Linked DNA regions of Homo sapiens: region 2 is linked to region 1. The links are contacts of gene promoters, found by promoter capture Hi-C in human tissues and cell types (Jung and others, 2019). All regions are on one chromosome and are shown on one strand. Each heading gives the region's core, a stretch centred on a gene start or on the middle of the fragment in contact. The rest is flanking DNA. Distances are from core to core; before and after follow the strand shown.

Region 1 (4,474 bases), core at 839-3,338:
GGCTCCAAGCCTGGCAGGGCAGGCCACCCACGGTCGTGGCCATGGTGCCCCGGTACCCAACCCCATTGTTCATGATGCAGGTCCGTACGTAGTCTGGGAGCAAGAGACAGAAGATCAACTTGGGCTGAGGTCCCCTGTCTCCCACCCTGCCCCTCTCCACCCCCACTTGCCTTTCTTCTGGAAGAGGTCACAGCGCCCAGAACGCCGCAGCCTCGTGTGGGGCGAGTGTTGAGTCCATGGCAGCAGTTGGCAACCATGGCTGCTCACGTTGTAGTGGAAGGCCCTGGAGAGAAGAAGGCACAGGGTAACGCCACAGCCCAGGCTTCCCTGCCCCCAGTCTTATCTAGGCCCAGTGGCCACTCACCGGCAGTCCATTAAGGGCCCACAGCGACCAGCACACTCTTCAGCATCTGCCACATCCTCCTGCCAAGGCCCGGGCACCACCGCATGTAGCAGGTGCTGTAGCTCTGTGCCCCGGAGCACTTGGAAGTCATTCAATGGCGAGCGCTGCCCTGCAGAGTAGGCATGAGTGGGTGCAGGTCAGGTGGGCATACATGTCAGTAATGTGTATTGGCATGTCCACACTTTGTTCATTCAGGGGATCAAAGCTACAAGGCTTCTGGGATGGACCCTGTATGCACTTTCAAGGGCCAGTCTAGCCCCCTGCACAGATACTTGTGAAAAAAATTTCCCCTGGGAAGCAGGCCCAGACTTGGTAGTTATCACCGGTGCCTCTGTTTAGTGGCCCAGGCACCGGGCTCAGATCTAACACATACGCTCTGTGAGAGCAGTGGGTGATGAAGCTTGCCCCACCTCATCTCTCAAATGAGAATGCTAAGGCTCAGAGCCATCACATTACCCAGCCAGGGGCCCTGGCTAGGCATTCAGACTCCAAATCTGGGCTCTCACCTGCACAAAGGCATATGCTAGGTTAGAGGGGTAGATCAGGCTCAGGAGGGGTCACTGCCTGCTGTGTGCGTGCATCTGTGTGGTCCTGACACTGCTTCAGTGCTAGAGCAGACGTGCTAATAGAGGCCTAAGTGGGCAATGTCTATGTGTTCCTAGGGCTTCCCAGCTGTGCTCAAGAGGGCAAGGTCACTGCCCCATGCCCACTGAGCCTCTGGCTCCCCGACTTTTTTCTCATCCTAGAATAGGAGAATGGGGCCAACCCCCTCCTGAAGGCAGATGGGGATCAGGGTTGGGGGCACTTACCAGGGACCCCTAAGCATTGAGTCAGAAGCAGCAGGAGTGGGAGCCACCCCATCCTTCTGGCTGGAGGCTGCACTGTGACCCACCACAGCCCCATCCGGGAAGTTGTGAAACCTGTCCCTACGGGATTGGGTGGCTCTGGCTCCACACGTCAGCTCAGGGCCTGCTGGACCCTGACCTGAGACCTGGTGACAGGAGCCATGAGGGGCCAGGCCTCAGGTCCCATAGGTCAGTTGCAAGGGCCTAGTACAGCTTAGTGGACAGGTGTTAGGAAGGTTTGGTGGGGACACTTGAGGTGCCCTGGGGTTGGGGTGAAACCCCTCTGCAGCCTAGTCAGCCCAAGGGCATTGTGAAAGTGAGAGCTGCCAGAGGTCTGGGCTCCAGCCCCTGGGTGACATTAAACTTTTCTGAATTTCGGTTTTTCCCTGTAAATTGGGGAAAATTACTTGCCCCAGCTTCAACACTGCCTCCCCTCCACCCTTTTGCTGCTGCCTTATCAGGCCCCAGCTGTAGGCAGGTCAGCCCACACCCGGCGGCAGAGCCCAGAGAGGCTCGCTCATCTCAGCCGCCAGAAGTGTCATCCCAGGGAAGGTGAGCGAGGCTGTCCACTAGGACTAAATAGGGGTGGAGGTAACAGGTAGCAGGGACTCTGGCAGGAACGGCCTTTCAGACGTTTTAAGGACCGTCTGAGCGGGGCCTCTAAGTATGGGTAGGAGACAGGCGGCCTAGGGATTCCGGTTAGCATGTCGCGTTCTGCCGCAGCAGGGCTGGGAGCATCCCCAGAGCAGGCGGAGGTCGGAGGTGGTGAGGCCTTTCGGCGAAGCTGAGGCCTGGAACAACCCGGTGGGAAGCCATGGAGGGGGTCCCCTAGCGGAGGCTGGGCGCGGGCCAGTGCGCGTGCGCGGCTGGAGGCTCAGCGCGCAAGCGTGCGCGTGATTTGGCCCTGAACGGACGCCGTAGCCAAGAGGTTGGGCGGATGTTGTGAGCCGGGTCGCTGCGGCCGAGGCTCCGGGTGAGTGAGGGGCGGCAGGGCTCTGAGCCTGGCGGGTTCCGGCTATTCCCTTCGCGGTCCGGGCTAGTCCAGTGCGAGGGCACCTGCAGCGCAGGGATCTGGGTGCGAAACTCCGAGCGGAAGCTGGTCTGGCAGGTCCTGTGGAGCTTGGGGCCAGGCGGGGGCGACTTGGGGGAGCCATGCGCCGCCCTCGCCGTCCTTGGGCTCCCAGACGGAGTAGGTTCAGTTCTGAGTCCGGATACCCCGGCGGGGTTGGACGGGATAGCCGTGACAGGGAGTCCCCGGGCGGGGACAAGGTCCGCCTCTCACCTGGGTCCTCAGCAACTGACTCCCGGAGCCCACTCCGGGTGTCTGGAAGGTCTGCTCATCAAATGAATGACTGAGTTTAATCAGATCTTCAACTACTCTGGTAGTGAAGGGGCACCGATCATGGACGCCCACCGAGGGCCCGAGGTCGGGAAAATCACCTTCCCGAGGAGCAGGCGTGGTGCAGACCCACAAGGGTTTGTGGCGGGAGTAGAGGGTCTGTTTGGGGTGAGATAAGAGACTGAACTGCAGAGTAGGGAGTGCTGGCTAAGGCAGTGCTGCAGAGCGAAACTCTAGACCTGCGCTGTCTAATAGAACTTTATATGATGGTGGGAACGTTCTACCTTTGTGCTGTCCAACAGAGTAACCATTAGCCACATGTGGTCATTGAACTCTTGAAATGTGGCTAAGGCAACTGAGAAATCGAATTGTTAATTTTTAAAACTTTAAATTTAAGTAACCTCATGTGGATGACGGCTGCTGTGTTGGACAGCACCGCTACACATCAGTGAGGCCAGCACCAGGGACTCAGTGCAGGTTCTGGAGCAGCTGCAGCAGCAACATGATGTGAGGGATAGATGCACTAGGAGGACCAATGGAGTTTGCCATGAGGGCTGGGCAAGGGTGGTGCTTGGATGAGGTGGGAGGCCACATGTGTGAGTGGGAATGGTGAAACTATCAGGACCATGGATAAAAGAAGGGAGGAACCCAGGGCTGAGGAAAGAGGCTCCAGCCTTGTGGGGAGTAAGTGGGACTTATGGCTAGAGATGACCAGACCAGTGGTGGTCTGCACTTGGGGGAATGTGTAGGATTGTCGCTTCTGGTTGTGAGCTGGACTCAGTATGGCTTACAACTGAGATGGATACAGGGGCTCTGCCCCTAGGACACCTCACTTTGGACATTTTGGTCTGATTTCCACAGAGCTGAGACATTTTGTTATGGTTCGGCAAAAATATATCTAGTACCTGCTCTCTGCCCAGCCCTGTGCTGGGCACAGGGACACTGGAGAACAAGAAGTGGTCCCTGTTACATGGGCCTAGACCCTGGCTACCCTCCCTGTGTAGGAAGCTGGGAGCCCCTGCATTCCCCTGCCCTATGTGTTAGTGTGCATGCCCCTGGCCTCACCTGCTCCCAAGCCTTCCTGCCATGGCAGGACTGAGGTCAGGTGTGGGGGCCCCTGGCTGGCCCTGAGTAGACAGGCTCTGTGTCTGGCTCAGCCCCCAGGACCACTGGCTGCCCATGAGAGATGAAGGATGGCATCCAAGGGGGCCGGCATGTCTTTCTCCCGCAAGAGCTATAGGCTGACCTCAGATGCTGAGAAATCCAGGGTCACAGGTAAGAGCTGGCAGGGAAGGAAGGAGGCTCCTCTTGTTGGGAGGAGAAGGAAGGGACAAAGGCCTCAGGCCTTGCTGCACCTGTGGCTGGCCTAGGACCAGAAGTCTCTGGGGCCAGCAGGGGCCAGGAGCTGCACTGATCATGTGGCCCTTTTCTCCCTTCTGACTTGTGGCTCAGGCATTGTGCAGGAGAAGCTGCTGAATGACTACCTGAACCGCATCTTTTCCTCTTCTGAACATGCACCCCCAGCAGCCACCAGCAGGTATGGCTGGGTGGGTGGCCCCTCCTCACTCTGCTGGGCCAGACCAGAATAAGGAGGCTGCAGTTGTAGGGAAAGGGAGCCTGGGCTCTGGACAGATAGGCTTAGGCTCTGTTCTCACTGTGCTCCTGGCTGCGAGATCTCTGGCCAGAGAGTCTGCCTTCCGTACTCTGCTTCTTCCTGTCTCCAGGCAGTGCTAGTTCCTTCTGAGAGTCAGGGAGCAGAGGTCAGGGAGCGGGTGCACATTCATGCCCAGCTAGCACCTGGCACCTACTCCATACCCAGCATCTGCCCCTGCATGTACCTGCCCTCACCTTGGCCCCAGCCTGGCCCCTTGTAGCTTCTGACTGACC
Region 2 (4,474 bases), core at 1,975-4,474, 550 kb after region 1:
ACCCGGGTTGAAGCAGTTCTCCCGCCTCAGCCTCCTGAGCAGGTGGGATTACAGGCGCCCACGACCACGCCCGGGTAATTTTTGTATTTTTAGTAGAGATGGGGTTTCACCATGTTGGCCAGGCTGGTCTAGAACTCCTGACCTCAAGTGATCTGCCCGCCTCGGCCTCCTAAAGTGCTGGGATTACTGGCGTGAGCCACTGCGCCCGGCCTTTTTTTTTCCTTTTTCGACTAGCTGCAACCCAGAGGGAGAAGGCGGTAAACCCGCCTTAAGACTGAGAAAACCGCAGTCCAGAAAGGCTCCCGAGTTCGTAGATCCCAAAACAAGTTTACTGGACTCATTAACTTTAACAAATGACAAAGACACGCCTCCTCCACCTAACTCGCCCAACTCGCAGAAGCTCAGAGGGCTGGTTCCTGCTCTGCCCTCGAGGGCACCGGATCCCCACCCTCGGGTTAACAGATCCGCCCTCCCGGCTGTCCAGCAACAGAGCTCCCGGCGCTCCGCACCCAATCACAGCCCGGTCCCGCCTGCAGCCCGCCCAGTGCCGGGTCCCGGGGTTTGGAACCACCCCTATTGCCTTTTCTCCGCGTGGCCCCGCCTGCAGCCCAGGCCCGAGCCTGGGCTGCGCCTAACTTCCCCCTTCGCTCCGCCCTCGAGCCAATCAACAGCCTCTAATCTCCTCTGGCCCCGCCTGCAAGCCCGCCCCGGCCCAGTCACAGGCTTGGTTCGCCCAGGCCCCACCCCCGGCCCGCCCCGCCGTCGGTGCGCGGCGGTAGGGAAGGCGCCTCCCGCAGTCGCTCGGAACTGCCGACCCGAGTGCTTCCCGCAGAGGGCTGGTGGTGGGAGCGGAGTGGGTCGGGCGGGGCCGAGCCGGGCCGTGGGCCGTGTGGGGGCCGGGCGGCGGCCGGGCCGGCGGACGGCGGGATGGGCTGCACCGTGAGCGCCGAGGACAAGGCGGCGGCCGAGCGCTCTAAGATGATCGACAAGAACCTGCGGGAGGACGGAGAGAAGGCGGCGCGGGAGGTGAAGTTGCTGCTGTTGGGTGAGGCCGCGTCCCGCACTGGGATCCTTGATTCCCAGCTCGAATCCCCAGACAAGGACTTTGACCTCCCAGACTAGGGCTTCAAACTCCCAGACCCGGGCTGTCTGGGACCCCACACCTGGGCCAGGACCAGGGTTGAAAACTCTAGATTGGACTAGACCTTTGATCCTGCCCAGACTCTAGACCAGACCCCTGTCTCATCCCAGACCCCAGACCTCCAAATCCAGTCAACAGTGCCCCAACACCCGCGGTCCAGTGCCCTGCTTGGCCATCCCCCCTTGCTAACTAGCTTCACAGAACTTCAGAGCCCCGCCATCCTTCCCTACACTTTGCCCAAACCCCCAGGATGCCCGCCACTTGTTCCCCAACCCTCAGGCTCCGCTTGTTTTCCTCACCTGCGCCTTTTATTCCTATTGGGCATGAGCATCCCGCGGGGCCCCTGCCAGGCCCCCCACCCACTCCCTCCTTCTCCTTCTGTGCCCCATCCCTAGTCTGGAATCTGTATCCTCCACCTGTGCACTCTGACCCAAGGAACCTCTCGAGTGGGAAACTGCTCTTGAGCCCCATCTCCAGCTGGAACCCCTTCAGCGAGCCCTGCTCCCTGCTTCCTGCCCTCCAGATCCTTCTCTGCAGGCATCACTCCCGAAACCCTCTGCTGATCCTCCCCTAAGTCCTCTTACACTCTGGCCTTCCCCAGATCCCTCCACCCTTCCTGCACCAAGTGGGCTGGGCTAGGAGGCGGGAGCCCTGGGTTGGAGAGGGCCTAGGCTGCCTTATGCAGAACCCCCACGGGGCTGGATTGAGGCTCCACTGGTCACGCTGGGGGAGGGGGCCAGGCCTCAGGCTTCCCAAGGAGGCTCTATGTTTTCCAGTTTCGAAGGCCAGTCTGGGAAGTAGGAGAGAGAGTGGAGGAGTTAGGGTTGTGGCCGCCTCCAAGGCCAGAAAAGATGGTGGCTGCTAGAGGAGTGGGGGGAAGTGGAAGTGGTGAGACAGCCGACATATTGCTGCCCCTGCGGGTGAGCCCAGGAGATCTGCTAGTAGGTGCTGGGCTGCCCACACCCCTTCTGGGCTGCAAGGCCTGGGATGTAGCCTCTGAGAGTTGGGGGGCTTGTTGGATCTTGGGACCCTGTGAAGGGGGATGGTGGACTAGCTGAATGAGGAGTTGAGGGGCCAGCTGGGGGTGGGCCAGGGTGCCTCTGAGCATCCCAGCTGGCCTTTTGCAAAGACGGTGGGCCTACTGGCTGTCCCCATCCAGCTTCCCACTGGAAGTAGGTGTGGTGCCCAGTGGCAGTCTAATTTTGATTTGGGGGTTTTAGAGTTGGGGGGAGGGAGGCCCTTGCAACAGCGCAGCACCGTTGTAGGCTGAGAAGTGCATGGGGGGGTGTGGCCCCTCGACTTCAGAACTGTCATAGGGCTCCCAGGCTGTGAAAAGCAGGGCTTTTCGTGCTGGACCTGTGGCCGAGGAACAGCATGTATGTCCATTATGGGCCATCTGTTGACTGTCCCTGCGGACCCGGCCTCCGGGGCACAGCCTTGGAGGTTTCAAAATGGCATCCGCTTCGCTGCTGCCTCAGGGAGGAAGAGAAGGGGCGGGAAGGGGCGGCGGCCCAGCCTCCTGGGCTGCTTTGCGTTGGGCGCTTGCCTCTTCCTGTCTCTGCTGTGAGTGCGGCAGCGGCAGTGAGTGGGTGTCGACGCGGCGGAATGCCCGTCGCTGCTGCTGCTGCTGCCCGACGGGCCTGGGGAGGGCACTTCCGGTACCGCTGCCTCCCAGTGCCCAGCCAGGAGTCTCTAGACAGCCTCTCCCCAGGCGATTGCAGTTACTGTGGTGGCCGAGGAAATGCAAGACTGGACCATAGAGCTGGGGGAACGCAGGGCTTCTGGCTAGTTTTGTGTCCCGACACCAGAAGGGTCCCCCATCCCACCAGGCCTGCTCCTTGGAGCCCAGCTCACCTTTTGGGCTAAGGCAAGTGAGACCTGGTAACTCCTCCCACACTGGGCTGGCAGCAGCCAGGGGTGCAGGGTCTGGCTTAGCACTTTCTAGCCTGGGAAGTTCACCCTGGGGTCCTGGCCTTCTGGCCTTTGCTTACTCTGTGAAATGGGCTTCCTGGGTTTTGGCCAAAGGAGTGCCCCAGGTCAGGATGGGGAGGGAGAACAAGAGCCTCCTGGTGGTTCTTGTTGGGGATGTAGGTTGGGAGTAAAGACCCTGCAGTGTGCTGCAAAGGGCTCTGACCAAGCTCTGCTTGATATTGATGACCCAGTCTGCCATGGCTGCCTGGGGAGGGATCCTGGCTTGAGCCATGCCTTTCCCATCCAGGTGCAAGGTGGTGATGGGAGCCCAGCTGTGGTAAGTTCAGAGTTCTGGGCGCCTGTCCCATGTAGCGGGAGACTTTGTCCAGGCAACGGGACTCAGGTTGGGCAACTGCCAGCCTTCCCTCCCAGCCAGAACCACGCCTGCTGCCCCGCCCGCACACCGCCTCCCTCCCATCTTGGGTAGCCCTGCCAGCAGGCAGGCACAGTCCTTGTCACCAGGGCAGAGGCTGATGTGGTACACACAGGCAAGAGAGTATTTCCTGGCAACTTTGTAGGGGGAGCAGATACCAGTCCTATTCTAGGGATGCTCCCCACTCCTACCCAGCTCAACGTGACTGATCAGCTAGGCCCAGGTGGAATCTGGGACCCTGGTCTGGGCTCTTAAGGGAAAGGAAGCCAGAGTGTATGTGAGGGGGGAGAGTCTCTGATTTGGGATGGGCCTGTGTGGACAGCTTCACAAAAAAAGGAGACAGTGTCCACCATTGGCTCCATAAAGGCTTCAGAATGTAAACAGAGCAGTTCTCTCTTGCCCCTGGAACTTTGTGTGTGTTGTTCCCTACTTGATTGTTCTTTAAAACTTTACTCTGGGATCACCTCCCAGGATCCTTCCTGGACATCCTCCCTCGACCAAGGCTGGTGAAACATCTGGCTCCCAGCGCTGTTGCTTCCCCCCTCAGATGCCTGGAGACTGCAGGGCAGGGCTAAGTCCTCTTCATTTCTGTGCCCAGCATGGAGCCTGGCATCTACTGGGTGCTTCTCATCTGTTTGTTGAATGAAGGAAGTATCCTCTGAACCTGATTTTGGGTAGATGGTGGAGTAAACTGAGCGGCAGTTTGCATACTGTGGGCAGGTGGCAAGGGCCCACAGGCCCACCACAGGATTGGTGACCAGCATTGAGGGGACACTGAGAAAAGTTCTTCAGGCTGTTTCTTCCCAGCCCCGCCACAGGCTATGCTGGCACCTGAGAGAGTTCTTATCCCACCCTGTGCGGAACTCCTGCTGAGCAGAGTGGCTTTGTATTCTTCCTTCCAACTCAGGCTGTTGGTGCACTGCTAGAGGGCTGCTGTCTCTGACACTGCAGTAGCCACAGTCGAGCTTGAGCTGGCTGGTCCAGCAGGG

Evidence for each region. The method cuts DNA at HindIII sites, captures the fragments that hold promoters and counts their contacts. A contact is called where the count stands out against the background at its distance.
Region 2: a fragment that was not itself captured here is called in contact with the fragment with the promoter of MST1 in region 1 in 1 of the 25 tissues and cell types used here (dorsolateral prefrontal cortex).

Annotation. Positions count from the first base shown.
Region 1 is chr3:49,687,386-49,691,859 of GRCh38, forward strand. It overlaps MST1 (macrophage stimulating 1), which reads right to left and starts at 2,089. Exons shown (of 18, transcript NM_020998.4): 1 at 1,213-2,089; 2 at 365-512; 3 at 171-283; 4 at 1-93. The coding sequence starts at 1,306. RNF123 (ring finger protein 123) reads left to right here and starts at 2,172. Exons shown (of 39, transcript NM_022064.5): 1 at 2,172-2,221; 2 at 3,745-3,862; 3 at 4,040-4,124. The coding sequence starts at 3,781. RefSeq lists an enhancer at 1,443-2,002. The HindIII fragment of the contact is 11,098 bases long and covers 1-4,474 here.
Region 2 is chr3:50,235,409-50,239,882 of GRCh38, forward strand. It overlaps GNAI2 (G protein subunit alpha i2), which reads left to right and starts at 796. Exons shown (of 9, transcript NM_002070.4): 1 at 796-1,045. The coding sequence starts at 928. RefSeq lists enhancers at 1-63, 64-674, 2,529-2,608, 3,117-3,726 and a silencer at 544-1,003. The HindIII fragment of the contact is 5,493 bases long and covers 479-4,474 here.